Regions from separate parts of the Homo sapiens genome. Here region 2 is linked to region 1. Evidence: promoter capture Hi-C in 16 types of primary human blood cells and fetal thymus (Javierre and others, 2016). All regions are on one chromosome and are shown on one strand. Each heading gives the region's core, a stretch centred on a gene start or on the middle of the fragment in contact. The rest is flanking DNA. Distances are from core to core; before and after follow the strand shown. Region 1 holds the start of CER1 (cerberus 1, DAN family BMP antagonist). Region 2 overlaps ZDHHC21 (zDHHC palmitoyltransferase 21).

Region 1 (7,642 bases), core at 2,397-4,896:
AAGAAAAAAGGTCCTGTTTTCTTCTGAGTTAAAAAAAAAATAATCTAACCTGCCATGACATGATTGCTATTCTGTATTTTGAAAAGAGAGGTAGTGATGAGGCAGTGGCATGCTCCCCAGTCAGATTTCTCTCCTGAATCCTTCAACCCAAATGTCCTTTTCCAGCTCTCAGTTGTCCTGTTTAACTGTAATGTCCACCCCCCACCTCAACACTGCCTCTCACCTTTTGTTGATTTAAGATAGGTTTTTAGGGAAGAACTTAGTCTCTCTGTTCGCCCTTGGAGAGCACTGGGCTTCTTTTTAACTGTCTTCTGAGAGTCTGTAAGAGGGACAGAAAATGTAGCTGTTGCTGTCCTCTCATAGGCACACTGGGGAGGTCTGAAAAGGAGACAAACCACCTCAACGTGTCTTGAGCGGCTGGGTCTCATGGGCCTCTTTTCTTGTCCATTTTATAAAAGTGTCACCAGCATATGAAAACATTTTTTATTTAAGTATCTTCTCGAGGTCTTTAGAGTTCCTGAAGACATCTTAGTGCCTAAGAAACCCAAGTCAAGTTGAAAACAGTCAGATTCTGCTGAAAGCCTGAACTGTAAATGGAAATGAATGGATTCTGGGATTGGCCCCTCTGGTTCTCATGCATGTCTAGGGTTGGCCCAGGAAGTGGACTTAGGAGGCTTGGGCTCACTCACATGAACTCAGGCTCACCCTTCACTGTGGCATTTGGTACTAAGTGCACTAATAATTGGCGATGCTGTCTCCTCATGAAAGCTTCCTACTGGGTCTGGAGACCTCCTGCAGACCTACTTCCATTTCCATTTGGTTCATCCAAATTGGGAGGTAACTAGATGCCTGTATCAACTGAAGACCAACAGAGGCAGCATATTTTTGCTGAAAGCTACAAAATCTTCACTTATTTTCTTAAGAGATTATAATGTATTACATTATACATATATTACATGTTATACATACATAATTATACACACATAATTATACACACACAGTGTATCAATGGCTTTAGAATTGGTGAATGGACACGATAGTGAAAGGTGATAGTCATTGCCTTTAGCTGAAAAAGGCAGAGGTTGGAGATAGGCTTGTTTCATAGTTCTCATCACAGAAGGCTTGGCTTTGCTAGATTTACTTTTCACGGATAGTATTTACTAATGGGAGTAGGGAGAATATTTCAAGATATTTGCACATTTTCTCAAAAGAAGTGACAGAACAGCAAAAGGATATTCTCTGTGAGTGATTTTTAAATGGCACTTATAAGCCCCAAATTAGGATCAGAGGAAGGGAAGTTTAGGACTAAAGGAAAGTGAAAAATGGATAACTGACATCCCTATAGATGATTTTATACAATAAAGTTAGATGATGCATAAGAAATCCCACTAGACTATCTAACCTACTTGAGGGCAGGGACAAAGTTTTACTCATTTTTCAATTATCTACCAGTATCTAATATGATTCTTAACACACAAAGTGAGTCTTCTACACATTGCAGTTCAACAGGAATTATCTCAACTGTATCTCATGTTCAGTAATTCCAGAGCCAAGCAAACTGAGACCCGAGATAGAATTTCTGAGATTGTCTTTAGTTTTGGGAAATAGTAGATACTCTGATTGATAACAATGGAATTTCAGTTACTGAAAAGTAACAGTTAAAAGGATTCAGGAAAGGTATCACAGCTGGCTTCCACACCATATTATACCAGGAGGCCTAGTGACTAGCTCTGGAAAGCGTATAGCATTGGATGGCTGAGGGGAATTAAGAAATTCAAGTAGCAGTCAATTAAAAAAAAAAAGATGTTGACATAGCATGGTGGCTCACGCCTGTAATCCCAGCACTTTGGGAGGCAGAGGCAAGATGGTGGCTCAAGGCTAAGAGTTTCAGAGCAGCTTGGGCAACAGAGTGAGGCTCTGTTTCAACAACAACACAAAATTTTAAATAGCCAGGTGTGGTAGTGTGCCTGTAGTCCCAGCTACTCAGGAGGCTTGCTTGAGCCTAGGAGTTTGAGGTTACAGAGTGCTATGATTGCACCACTGCACTCCAGACTGGGCAACAGAGCAGAACCCTTTTCCTAAAATAAAAAAAAACAATGGCAAATACACATGCTTATTTATTATATATCAACAGCACCTTTCATTAATACTAGCACACGTTCCATAGATATTTGGTACAAGTACAATATATCTCCACTCATGGCATTCTGGTAAAGTGATGGTCCATGTTAAAAATAGCTCATTATCATGGGTAAAGGGACTTACTTAAGGCTTTATTTCATAGAAATCAGGCATGGCTATCAAGAAGAACAGAAATGCCTGGAAAACAGACTCCAGTGGGTCACTTCTTGGAAAGAAAGTTTAATCAGTATTGACAAAAAAGGGGGAACATGTTCCAGGACTATTTGTGTTATTGAAAGCAAGGAATATAGTGATTGAATTAAAAGGGGAGAAATAAAAGCAGATATTGCATTGCTTCCCAGTGGAAATACTGTTTGAATCATGTGGTAGGCTGATCGGACTCTATTCTGGGGTTTCAGTTTTCTGGACGTGTTTCTTTTTCGTATCCTAGGCTGATTCATGATAGTTTTGAATGATAGTTATTTTTCAATTTTTCCTTTGATCCCCGAAGACTCTTATTTGTGTCAATCTTTATTTAGCCTGGCCATCAATTAGTGTAAAACAAGGGGAGATGATGTGGATTCAATAAGGTAAGAAACTGACTAGCCAGCGTCACACACAAAGTTATCAAACCTGGTTCTTAGAATCCACGTTCTCATGTCTGGCTCTTTGTTCAAAGGGAAAAAAAAATCAATAGGATGGCTGGAGGGAGACATTTCCCTATCCTCATTGAAGACTGATGAGCTGTCAGTCTATTACGTGGTATCCTGTTGAGGAACATGTGAACAATTGGAAGAGTTTATCTGATGACTGACCAGTTGTGAAATTTAGCACCCATTAATTGATTCTTAATGTGAGAGGATTAACTTGGGAATTGTGAGTTTCTACGTGTGGAAAGGAAAACATATTCCCTTTACTCAGTTACTGTGCAAAAATCAATAACCCCAATTTGCATGTAAGTAAGAAACAATATGTCCCTTGCTCAAAAAAATTAACATCCTTCTAGCTCTTCCTTTCTTCTCCTTACAACTTTGATATACTTCTTCGTGTGTGTGTGTGTGTGTGTGTGTGTGTGTGTGTGTGTGTGTGTGTGAATAGCCTTCCTAAAGGCCTGGGCTTTTTCTAAATGTATGCCTTTAATTTTTATCCAAAAACTTCTCTTACAGCAACATGTCTTGTCTATTCTATTCCAGCACAAGGCAGATGCACAGCAAATGTGAGCTGACTCTAGTCCTTCTTCTGAAAACAGCCATGGGAAATTTAGGCAAAGAATGTGTTGTCTTTGCTAATACTGCTCTTTAAGCCCCAGACATAGCTAAACTCTTAGCTAATTACCCCCTGGGTCCCAGGCTTTCACTGGGGCCTTTTAAAATACACAAAACCAAAGTGACGGCAGGAGGCCATTAGCACTACATAATTCAAGCAAACAATAAATGTGTTTATTCTGCCTGGCTACTGACCACCTGCCTTCCCATCCCGCCAGGCAGGTATCTATATATACGATTTCCTTTTTCCCAGTCCTGCAGAGAATGAGCCTCTCCTTTGGGCCTCATCATTTACAAAAGAAGCTTGGGCCCCTGACAGCATGCATCTCCTCTTATTTCAGCTGCTGGTACTCCTGCCTCTAGGAAAGACCACACGGCACCAGGATGGCCGCCAGAATCAGAGTTCTCTTTCCCCCGTACTCCTGCCAAGGAATCAAAGAGAGCTTCCCACAGGCAACCATGAGGAAGCTGAGGAGAAGCCAGATCTGTTTGTCGCAGTGCCACACCTTGTAGCCACCAGCCCTGCAGGGGAAGGCCAGAGGCAGAGAGAGAAGATGCTGTCCAGATTTGGCAGGTTCTGGAAGAAGCCTGAGAGAGAAATGCATCCATCCAGGGACTCAGATAGTGAGCCCTTCCCACCTGGGACCCAGTCCCTCATCCAGCCGATAGATGGAATGAAAATGGAGAAATCTCCTCTTCGGGAAGAAGCCAAGAAATTCTGGCACCACTTCATGTTCAGAAAAACTCCGGCTTCTCAGGGGGTCATCTTGCCCATCAAAAGCCATGAAGTACATTGGGAGACCTGCAGGACAGTGCCCTTCAGCCAGGTATGTGTTCTGGGGGGAGAGCAGGTAAGAGTTTGCAGGTGGTAGTGGACAGCTGGGATGGATGGAGAGTAGGGGAAAAGGCTGTCAGGAGCCTGACTCTAGCTTAACTACAGATTTGGTCCTTGGGCATTCATCATAGGATTTGGCAAAGATTAAGTTTCCTTCTGGCCTTTCCATTTTTTCTTGGCATTGTGGAAATGCTGCAAGAATGATATGATGATACTGTCAATATCAGTAATCATTCATTCACACTGAAGACACAGAGCTCTGTTTTATTTATTTATTTTTGCATTGGAGGTGATCTACTCAGAGATATAAGTCAGACTGTACCCTCAGTTAGGAAACTGAGAATTTAGAGTAATCACCAGAACTCCTCTGTAGCTATCTTTCTGCACTCTATTAATATGTGGATGAGCAGGTCAACTCCATTTGTTGATAAAGTGGGGTGCATTGGACTCCTTCCCAAATACTCTCATATCCATTTACGATGGTCTTAATCCCCATAGTCCATACTTAATTACTTTATAGGTTTATGAGGGACTTCTTTAATAGCTTGCTAAAGCTATCCCACAACCTCAAAGTACGTTGAGGTTCTCAGGCAAAAGTTGTCATATCATTTCTAGTATTATGATAGCAAAAAAGTGATTTTCTTTCACTTATTTTCTCATATGAGCTTTTTAAAAAATCAATCTTGATGTGAGATCATATCTCCTCCCCTTAGAAGTACCTTTCTCCTGATTCATGTTGTGTTGGCTGATTTGTAGTTATTATGATCAATTCCATGCTATTAAGACAAAGGGACATCCTACTGTCTACTTCCTCTGGCAATATCTACATTCCAAATGTTAAATTAAAATTGAGAACTTGCATTAGGTCCTTAAACATGAAGATATTGAACCAAAAACATGCAGGGTAGAGTAAAATTTTATAGTCGAGTAATGCTACCCAATTAAGCAAGCAATAGAATAGGGCAATTGACTGTTCAAGGCAGTTAAGTATTCTGCCTGAAAAGGCAAGGATATGTAGCAATGGCAAGTCAATTATCAAATAATAATGACTACTCTGTTGGCCATGTGCAATTAGAAAATTACCCCTAAGAATCAGGCAATCAAATTTCTTTTGAAATTCTTCTTTTGAATTCTATTGCTAATTAAATTAAAACTAAGATGTTTGACTCTTACATATTTTGAAAGGCATATAAAGCTAGGTGCTTGGAGTTATGAGAGGTAAAGGTGATGTAATATACAATGATTTGCAGGCATATGCATTGTAACTCTGCTTGCATACAACTTCATAGACTTGAATGTACTACAGGTCTTGCAGAATAGGATAGAATTAAACCTAGAATGTTCTGATCTATTCTACGATCAATGTAACAAATATGTATTGGGAGCCTACTATGCACAAAGCCCTGTGAGGAATAAAAAAGTAAGGCACATTACTTATGTAAGATAATTACCATTAGAATTTTTCAATCGCTCACATCCAATTAGACAAAATTGCTTAAGGTTTTGCACGAATAATGTAGAGTAAAATATTTTTTATGTTAACTTAGGGATTCCCTAAAGGCTGTTTAATAATTTACTCAATAAAGAAAATTTAATTGAGGTGGTTCTGTGCCCTTATAGATACCATCACTTGCATATTGCAAATTGTATCCAAAATTGGAAAGCTTTGAAATTTTTAAATTATCCTCAGATTTACAGTCCATAGCTTCTGCATTATGTGTGTTAAAGAAATAATTCAAAATAACGTAATGGAAATGTGTTTGCTTTTTAGACTATAACCCACGAAGGCTGTGAAAAAGTAGTTGTTCAGAACAACCTTTGCTTTGGGAAATGCGGGTCTGTTCATTTTCCTGGAGCCGCGCAGCACTCCCATACCTCCTGCTCTCACTGTTTGCCTGCCAAGTTCACCACGATGCACTTGCCACTGAACTGCACTGAACTTTCCTCCGTGATCAAGGTGGTGATGCTGGTGGAGGAGTGCCAGTGCAAGGTGAAGACGGAGCATGAAGATGGACACATCCTACATGCTGGCTCCCAGGATTCCTTTATCCCAGGAGTTTCAGCTTGAAGAGCTATCCCACTATTACCTTTGAAAAGCAAAACCACAACAGCAAAGATGCTGATTATTCAGTCTGAAAATGTTAAGTGGGTACATAACATTTTCAGGGAAAGGTGACTTGAAACGTAGTTTTAAATTAGAACGATAGAGGAAATGATATTAGTCTAGTTATTGGTACACGTTTGAGACCTTGTCTCAGCTCTGCCACTAACTAGCCGTAGAATGTTAAGTTGTAAAACCTTTCTCCATCTAAAGATTTTCATCTATAAATGACGGACCCGACCTAGATGATTGCTAAAATCCTTTCCACTACTAATATTCCGTGATGCATTTTCTCCAAGTTTGGGTAAAAGCCCTCCATCTAAAGAAGGAAAAGAAATAAGCGAGACCATAAAAATGGGCTTCTTTAATGTGTGTCAAATCACCAGCAAGCAAAGAAGCAAGATAGAGAGGGAGGAAGGAAGGAAGGAAGGAAGGAAAGAAGGAAGGAAGGAAGGAAGGAAGGAAGGAAGGAAGGAAGGAAGGAAGGAAGGAAGGCAGGCAGGCAGGCAGGCAGGCAGGCAGGCAGGCACGCAGGCAGGCAGGGAGGCAGGCTACGTGAAATATTTGTAGGAAAGATTCTCATACTTATAGTTACTTTTGCAACCCAAACAGTGTTTTACTTGACTTCTATCTGATGATTAAGTCTTTCCACAGATGTAAGGAGTAACTTGCTTGGTTGCCTCCTTTTTAACAATACTCCTCATATAAAGTACTTAATGTCAGGTCTCTGACTTTGAAGAAGGAACAGTGATGTTAATTTTAGTAGTTTATATAGGGAAGAGGAACAATCACTGGTAGCCAAACAAGTACCTATATTATGAGGAAGGAAAAATACATGACTACTACCAGGTTTAGAGATCAATCCAGAGATGCTAATGAAAGTAACCCCCAAAAATTCAATCTTCAGGCAAAATTATTTACTCACATGCATTTTGAATTAGGTAGTAAGGTTTCTATGTTTGAATGACTGTTTTTTGCTATTTAATAAAACTTTGTATTATAAATTTTATTCAGCAAGTACCAAAATTACAGGTTCTGAAAATATTCTGGATATTTTAATGCATTAAATTTTAGTATATGAAGCATTCTGAAAAATGTTCTTATATTTTTCCCTTACTTGTTTTGTCTCATAATTTAAAGGTACTATCAGGAGATAACCTAGCTGGAAGCATTTCTGGAATGTCTTCATAGACTTATGACACTGGACCAAGGGTTTCTTCTGATCTGTAAGCAGCCTTCTGTTTAAGTCTCTCAATCACCTCTCTCCTGTCTGTGTTAATTTTTACACATATATGGTACAGAACTGCCTTTTCCCAGCCA
Region 2 (7,642 bases), core at 3,154-5,653, 95 kb after region 1:
ATGATCTATGATTGGTGATCTTTGATGTTACTATTGTAATTATTTTGGGGCACCACAAACTGCGCCCGTATAAATGGCAAACTTAATTGGTAAATGTTGTGTGTGTTCTGACTGCTGCATTCACTGGCCATTCCTCTATCTCTCTTCTTTGGGCCTTGCTATTCCCTAAGATACAATAATGTTGAAATGAGGCCAAATAATAATCCTATGGTGGCCTCTAAGTATTTAAGTGAAAAGAAGAGTTGCATGTCTCTCACTTTAAATCAAAAACTACAAATGATGAAACCTAATGAGAAAGGCATGTTAAAAGCTGAGACAGGCCGAAAACTAGACCTCTTGTGCCAAATTGCCAAGTTATGAATGCAAAGGAAAAGTTTTTGAAGGAAATTTAAAATGCTACTTCACAGAACGTACAAATGATAAGAAAGTGAAGCAGCTTTATTGTTGATATGGAGAAATTTTTGGTGGTCTGGATAGAAGATCACACAAGCCACAACATTCCATTAAACCAAGCCTAATCCAGAGCAAGGCCCCAACTCTTCAATTTTATGAAGGCTGTAAGAGGTGAGGAAGCTGGAGAAGAAAAGTTGGAAGCTAGCATAAGTTTGTTCTTAAGGCTTAAGGAAAGAAGGCATTTCCATAACATAAAAAATGCAAGGTGAAGCAGCAAGTGCTGATGTAGAAGTTGCAACAAATTATCCAAAAGATCTAAGATGATTAATCAAGGTGGCCACACAAAACAACAGATGTTCAGTGTACACAAAACAGCCTTCTATTGGAAGAAGATGCCATGTAGGACTTCTGTGGCTACAGAGGAGAAGTCGATACCTGGCTTCAAAGCTTCAAGGTACAGGACAGACTGACTCTCTTGTTACGGTTAAATGCAGCTGGTGACTGTAAGTTGAAGCCAGTGCTCATTTGCCATTCCAAAAATCCTAGGCTCTTAAGAATTATGCTAAATCTACTCTGCCTTTGCCCTAGAAATGGAAAAACAAAGCCTAAGTGACAGCCACATCTGTTTACAGCATGGCTTGCTGAATATTTTAAGCCCACTATTGAGAACTACTGCTCAGGAAAAAAAGTTCCTTTCGTAATATTACTGCTCATTGACAATGCATCAAGTCACTCAAGAGCTCTGATGAAGATATACAAGGAGGTTAATGTTGTTTTCATGCCTGCTACACCCCTTATGCATGCCATGGATCAAGGAGTAGTAATTTCAACTTTTAAGTCTTACCATTTAAGAAATACATTTCATGGGCTATAGCTGCTGTAGACAGTGATTCCTCTGATGGATCTGGAGAAAGTACATTGAAAACCTTCTGGAAAAGATTTACCATTTTAGATGCCATTAAGAACATTTGCGATTTATGGGAGGGGACCAAAATAACAATATGAACGGGAGTTTGGAAGAAGTTGATTCTAAACTTCATGGTTAACTTTGAAGGGTTCAAGACTTCAGTGGAGGTGGTAACTAAAGATGTGCTAGAAATAACAAGAGAAATAAGAAGTGGAAGATGTGACCGAATTGCTACAATCTCATGATCAGTGTTGAATGAATGGGAATTTGCTTCTTATGGATGAGCCCAAAAAGTGGTGTTTTGAGATGGAGTTTACCCTTAATGAAGATACTGTGGACGTTATTGAAATGACAACAAAGGATTTAGAAGAGTATATGGACTTAGTTGGTAAAGCAGTGGCAGTGTTTGAGAGGATTGACTCCACATTTTTTAACGAAGTCCTACTGTGGGTAAAGTGCTATCAAATTGCATCGCATGCTACAGAGAAATCGTTCATGAAAGGAAGAGTCAACCTATGCAGCAGACTTTATTGGTTTTTTTGCTTGTTTGTTTGTTTTGGGATGGAGTCTCTCTCTGTCGCCAGGCTGGCGTGCAGTGGCGTGATCTCGGCTCACTGCAACCTCTGTCTCTCGGGTTTAAGCGATTCTCCTGCCTCAGCCTCCCAAGTAGCTGGGACTACAGGTGTGCACCAACACGCCAGCTAATTTTTGTATTTTTAGTAGAGATGGGATTTCACCATGTTGGCCAGGATGGTATCGATCGCTTGACCTCAATATCCACCTGCCTCGGCCTTCCAAAATGCTGGGATTACAGGTGTGAGCCACCGGTTTATTGTTTTAATTTTGACAGCCACCCCAGCCTTCAGCAGCCACCACCCTGGCCAATCAGAAGCTGTCAACTTGGAGGTAAGACCCCCTACCAGCAAAAATATTACATCTCCCTGAAGGTTCAAATGATCATTAGCATTTTTTATCAATAAATAATTTTTAATTTAAGGTAGGTATGTACATTGTGTTTTAGACATAATGCTGTTGTACACTTCATAGAGTATAGCATAAACATAACATTTATATGCAGTGAGAAACCGAAAAATTTTTGCTACCGGCTTTATTGCAATACTCGCTTCATTGTTTAGAACCAAACCTGCAATATCTTCGAGGTATTTCTGTAAGTTATTTATGGTTTTTGTGTATCAGGTTTGATTCTGACTCTCTTCCCTTCTATCAACATGTTAATTCTCAAATTGCAAGGGTTTTTTTCTGTAGTATTGAACGTTACATTTTATTAAGGTAGAGAGATTTGGTTATGAGGTGATATTTCTAAAACCGAGTGGAAACCACATTTGTTGAATAATGCTCCCTCCAAAAGTTTCATCTCTTTCTGCATATGTGTAGTAACCTCTCAGAGCACTGTACCAGACACTGCTGGTATCTATAGCAATTACACCTCTGTAAAACAATCAAAAAAGAATTGTTAAGAAAGAGAAAGCAAGAGAGAGGATATATTCTATTTGTTATCCTAACCTTTAGTCACTTTACTTTCTCTTGAATACGAGTACTTTTTAGAATTACAATGAATTTTTAAATCTCTTTAGCTGGGATTTCATAGTGAACCTCAAGCGTTACCCTTTTGGGGTTTAAAAAAGAAATTAAAAAGGGTTTCCAGAATATACTCTTCCTCACATTGATTTAAGATTCTTTGAGGCTTGATTATTTAAAAGTCTAATGCATTCGGTGTTTAATTTTAAATCGAATGAATTAAATTAGCACTTAAATACTATTTAATATTTTAATTAAGTTAAAATATAGATGATGCTTACTTTATAAAATAAGTTTGCTGTTTTGTGATAAAATTAAGATTACAAGAAATTATACATCTGCACATGTTTTTGTCATAATTCGAATCCATGGATCTCTCTTTACAGTGTTAAGTGACGAATTTGTCAGGTTGCATAAGAAAGAAGTGGGAGAAAGAATCACAGTAAATTTAATCCTTCCATTGCAGTCTTACTTTTTCCCTACTCTTGCACCCTAAAGATCCTAGAGGCATTTTGGGAAACTACTGATACGGATATCATTTCATTACGTAAACTATTTTATTGCATAGCTTGAATATAGACCTACTAGACATCAAACAAGCAAAATAAGTGTTGTCTCTTTGGGATTTAGCTTGAGGTTTCAGGGAAGCAGCATATCACTTTTCAGTAATTTTTTACCATTATTCATTTTTACTTGGAATAAATAAATCATTTATCTCATCTTCCTGTTGATAGTGAAAGATAACAGGATAATCATAGCAGTGATAATCTGATGTCATTTTAGACCTAGCAAGAGTAGATTATCTGTGACCCAGATAAAATAATTAGAAATTACTTTAACTTAAAAATAGTGGATTCTAATCTCATTTTCAAGGTTAAAAGATTTCAACACAACCAGATGTTTCTGTTAAATAGACTAATCTGAAGCCCAATTCAAAAGGATTACCTGTGATTATTTTTCGATTTAATTTTAAACAGGATTTAAATATACGTTTTTGTGCGTTTTTACTACAATTTATATTGGAATAAAAATGTTTTCAAATCAGTCTACTTCGAGGCATTTTTTATTAAGGGAAACAGGTTAGTCAAATTATTTTTTAGACTTCAGACTGTTTAGCCTGTTTTTTGGTTTTTTTTTGCTGTTTCTGAATCAAATGGATAGTGATGTTATTTAATGTAATTGATGTTGTCTGAATTATTGAGCAGTAGTTCACACATAGCCAACAATAATGTCCATTCTGATGAGCACCAATACTAATAGTGCTGGGTGATTGTATTTGTCATGTTCTCAGTCACTGGGCTTGGAGAGAGTTAATCAAGAAGTGCTGTAACAGCTGGTACAGCGCATTCTGGTGAGGTTCTGACAGTGAGCTATTGTGTACCATGACACTGCTCTGACAGTTTATCTAATTTTTATATACAAGCATTTTTGTTTTCTGGGCTCTGTGGAGTTTATATAATAGTGTAAGCTTTTGATGATGTCTCTGGAGATTTTCTCAGTTGTGGTGAGGTTGGGGGTAGGGTGAGACAGATGTATTTAGTTGCAATTTTGTAAAAGACTAAATTCTCAAACAAAAAAATAGTGATTTTTGCATTTGGTTTCACAGGTGCTATTGTTGGATTCTATTTGAATTGCTGAAGATAGCTTAAATCAAAGCTTTTCAAATTAAGAAGAAAATGTTTTCCCCCCTAAATACTGGCTCATATTTAACTCAGCAAGTTAATGTTTACTTAAATAAATACAGGAGAAATCATAAATGCAGGGGTGACAGTTTTAACTTGGCTACCTTACTCACTGAAAAGTATCTTGTGTTCCAAGTGTGAAATCAGTTTAAAGGAGACTGTCTAGTAAACAGCATTTTACGAATCAGTCGATTTACTTGCCTTTTAATCTATACACAGAAGTGTAGTCCTCAAATGATTAATTCCTATAGTTAAATTTTGCCTAGTATTCTGCCAAATTATTTTGAATTAATAGCATTCAGTACACTCTTTATAACAATTATGTTTGATGTACTCAGCTCCAGGTCAGCATTGCAGACATGAACATCATTGCTAATTATGCTGACCCCAGCTCACATATACTTCTATAAAGGGAGCTCTGTAAGGCATTTTTGTCTTCCTCTGAATTTTTGCTTGATAAAAATAAAATAAATGTATTTCTAATGTAGTATTCCCAATTGTAATATTATATGAAAGATTTTATAGCTTTTTTAAAACCTAGAAAGTTAATTAAAATTTAAAGTGTCCCTTCTTTTTAAATATGCTTTTAATGTCATATAGTAAAATTGGGTATAATATTTTTTAGAATTTTGTATATGATAAGTTTATAAAAAACTAGGTTCCCCCTTGCCAAGGGCATTTGCTTAAATACCAAGTTATATTTCATATTTACATGAAATACTCTTTTAAAAAAATTATCAAAATTATTTTGATAATTATGGTGTGTGGAATTGGGCTACTCTTTAGCATATGCATGTTCCTATGTAAAAGCATATTTATATTGCATAATTTCTGTTTGCTCAGTGTAATAAACTGCTTGTAAGTATTTTTGATAAAACTAATTAAAAAGAAATCTTTTTCTATAATTTATTTATATGTCCTTAAATCACTACTGATTGCTTGAGTGATTAAATAGATGCTTAAAAAGTGTTCGTAAGGAAACTAAACATTTATGGGTTTTCCTTTTACTAACAATTTTTCCTAGATATTCATTTTATTATTTCATGATCTGAATCCACACAAATATTTAATCTGACATTAAAACATAGGACTGCAGAAAGCAGTAAATCTTATATTTATGGTTTGCTTATGGTATTTTGGCACAATAATTTATGTACATTTTATTGATATATTATTATTCCCTGAATCTCAGCCAAAGGGGCATGTTAAATGCCCATCTTATTTCTACTAATAACCAAAAATCTTATCAAAGTATAATTTTGGTGTTAAAAGTGTAAGAGTAGTTAAATTTGAGTTTTGATTATAAACAGTTTTTCAGCTGTTCCAAATATTCTGATTAGTGCGAGACTTATTTCTACAAAACATTATTGTATATAATCATCCTTGCTGGCTTCCTCTCTATGTTACTATATAATTATTTCCTGTATACTTGACTACTTTTACTAGATTGTAAGTTCCATGATGCTAAGGACTGTGTCATAATAGATACTTGGTAAATTTTTGATAGATGGATAAATGAATGAATGAATCATGGTTTACATATTTAGGACTTGTTTTTTCAACTGGATTATAAGCTCTTAGAGGGCATAGGATTTTATATGTGTAGTCTCTTGTAGTCCCTATTATTTTATTTTTCATTATAAAACCACTTGTTTGTTTGTTTAAACATAATGTTGAAAAGTTACATTTTGAGGTAATTGAGGTATTTCTTTCCAAGCCCTCTCAAAAAGTAGGTAGTAGGCAGTATCACTAAAATCTTAAGACTGCCATTTATTGAGGAGTTATAAGGGGTTTTGACATAATTAACTCATTTAATCCCCACAAAAACCTATGAGGTAAGCGTTATTATTTGGAAATGGAGGTATAGAGTTTTAGCAATTTTCTTTAGATTATACAGTCAGAAAGTGGCATTTAAGATTAAGAGAAGTGTGAGGATTATTTTGGAAAGAGATTTTCAGTGTCTATAAATATAAGATCTGTTGCCTTCTCACTTTTGTTCTATGATTGATTCGATGTTTATGTGAACTTCAGATCCCTGATAAAAGACATAGCTGGTCTTTTGTTGGAAATGGGTGCTTAAAGAACCATTCATTTCAAATGAGGAAAGTAGAAGGAAGACAGAGCTAAGATTAACAGGACATTTCCCTCTTTTGATTGAAAACAAAACTAAAAATAAGGAATCATGCTATTTCTGTTCATGTCCAATTAGTTTAGTGCTGCAAATTTATATTAAGTTGACCATTTTGTACAGTATGTGCTGCTAAGTGCTATGGAAAAATTTAAAGTTAAATGAGCTACTGTTCATATACTAATCAGAGGTGCTAAGAAGTGAAATGAAAGTCTTTCTTAGAATTAATATAAATTAGTAATAGATAAAGCAGGCAAAGTTTTTCTCTAATTGTGAAAAACTTGCCTGAGTAGTGTTTTTAATTTTTAAATTTTTGATTGATATATAATAATTGTACATAGTTATGGGGTACAATGTGATGCTTCAATATTTGTATACATAATGTAATGATCAAATCAGTAATTAACTTATCCATCACCTCAAACGTTTTTCATTTATTTGTGGTGAGAACATCCGAAATCCTCTCTTCAGGCTATTCTGAGATGTACAGTACTTTGTTGACTGTAATCACACTGCTGTGCAATAGAACACCACAATTTATTACTCCTTTCTAATTGTAACTTTGTACCCATCGACCATCCTCTTCCCCATCCTTCACTTCTTTCTACCCTCCCCAGTCTCTGCTAACTACTGTTCTATTCATACTTCTGTGAGATCACCTTTTTTAAGATTCTGCATATGAGTGAGAACAGTCAGTATTTGTCTTTCTTTAACTGGCTTATTTCATTTATGCATGTGATCACAAATGATCGTACTTCATTCTTTTTTTGGCCGATTAGTATTCCATTGTGTATATATACCATATTTACTTTATTCATCTGCTGTTAGACACAGGTTGATTCCATATCTTGGCTATTATGAAGAGTGCTGCAATAAACATGGGACTCTGACATACTGATTTTATTCCTTTGAATATACAGTTGTCCCTCACTCTCCATGGGGGATTGATTTCTGGACCCCACAGGGATATCGGAATCCATTGAGGCTCCTGTT

The links. The method cuts DNA at HindIII sites, captures the fragments that hold promoters and counts their contacts. A CHiCAGO score of 5 or more calls a contact.
Region 2: a fragment that was not itself captured here is called in contact with the fragment with the promoter of CER1 in region 1 in 1 of 17 cell types (total B cells); the score reaches 5.1 in total B cells.

Annotation. Positions count from the first base shown.
Region 1 is chr9:14,718,737-14,726,378 of GRCh38, reverse strand. CER1 (cerberus 1, DAN family BMP antagonist) reads left to right here and starts at 3,646. Exons shown (of 2, transcript NM_005454.3): 1 at 3,646-4,213; 2 at 5,993-6,655. The coding sequence starts at 3,707. The coding sequence ends at 6,289. RefSeq lists enhancers at 2,621-3,558, 3,559-4,498. The HindIII fragment of the contact is 2,921 bases long and covers 771-3,691 here.
Region 2 is chr9:14,624,261-14,631,902 of GRCh38, reverse strand. The region is part of intron 8 of ZDHHC21 (zDHHC palmitoyltransferase 21); the gene reads left to right. Among named protein-coding and RNA genes, the nearest start is that of ZDHHC21, 65 kb to the left of the region's middle. The HindIII fragment of the contact is 188 bases long and covers 4,310-4,497 here.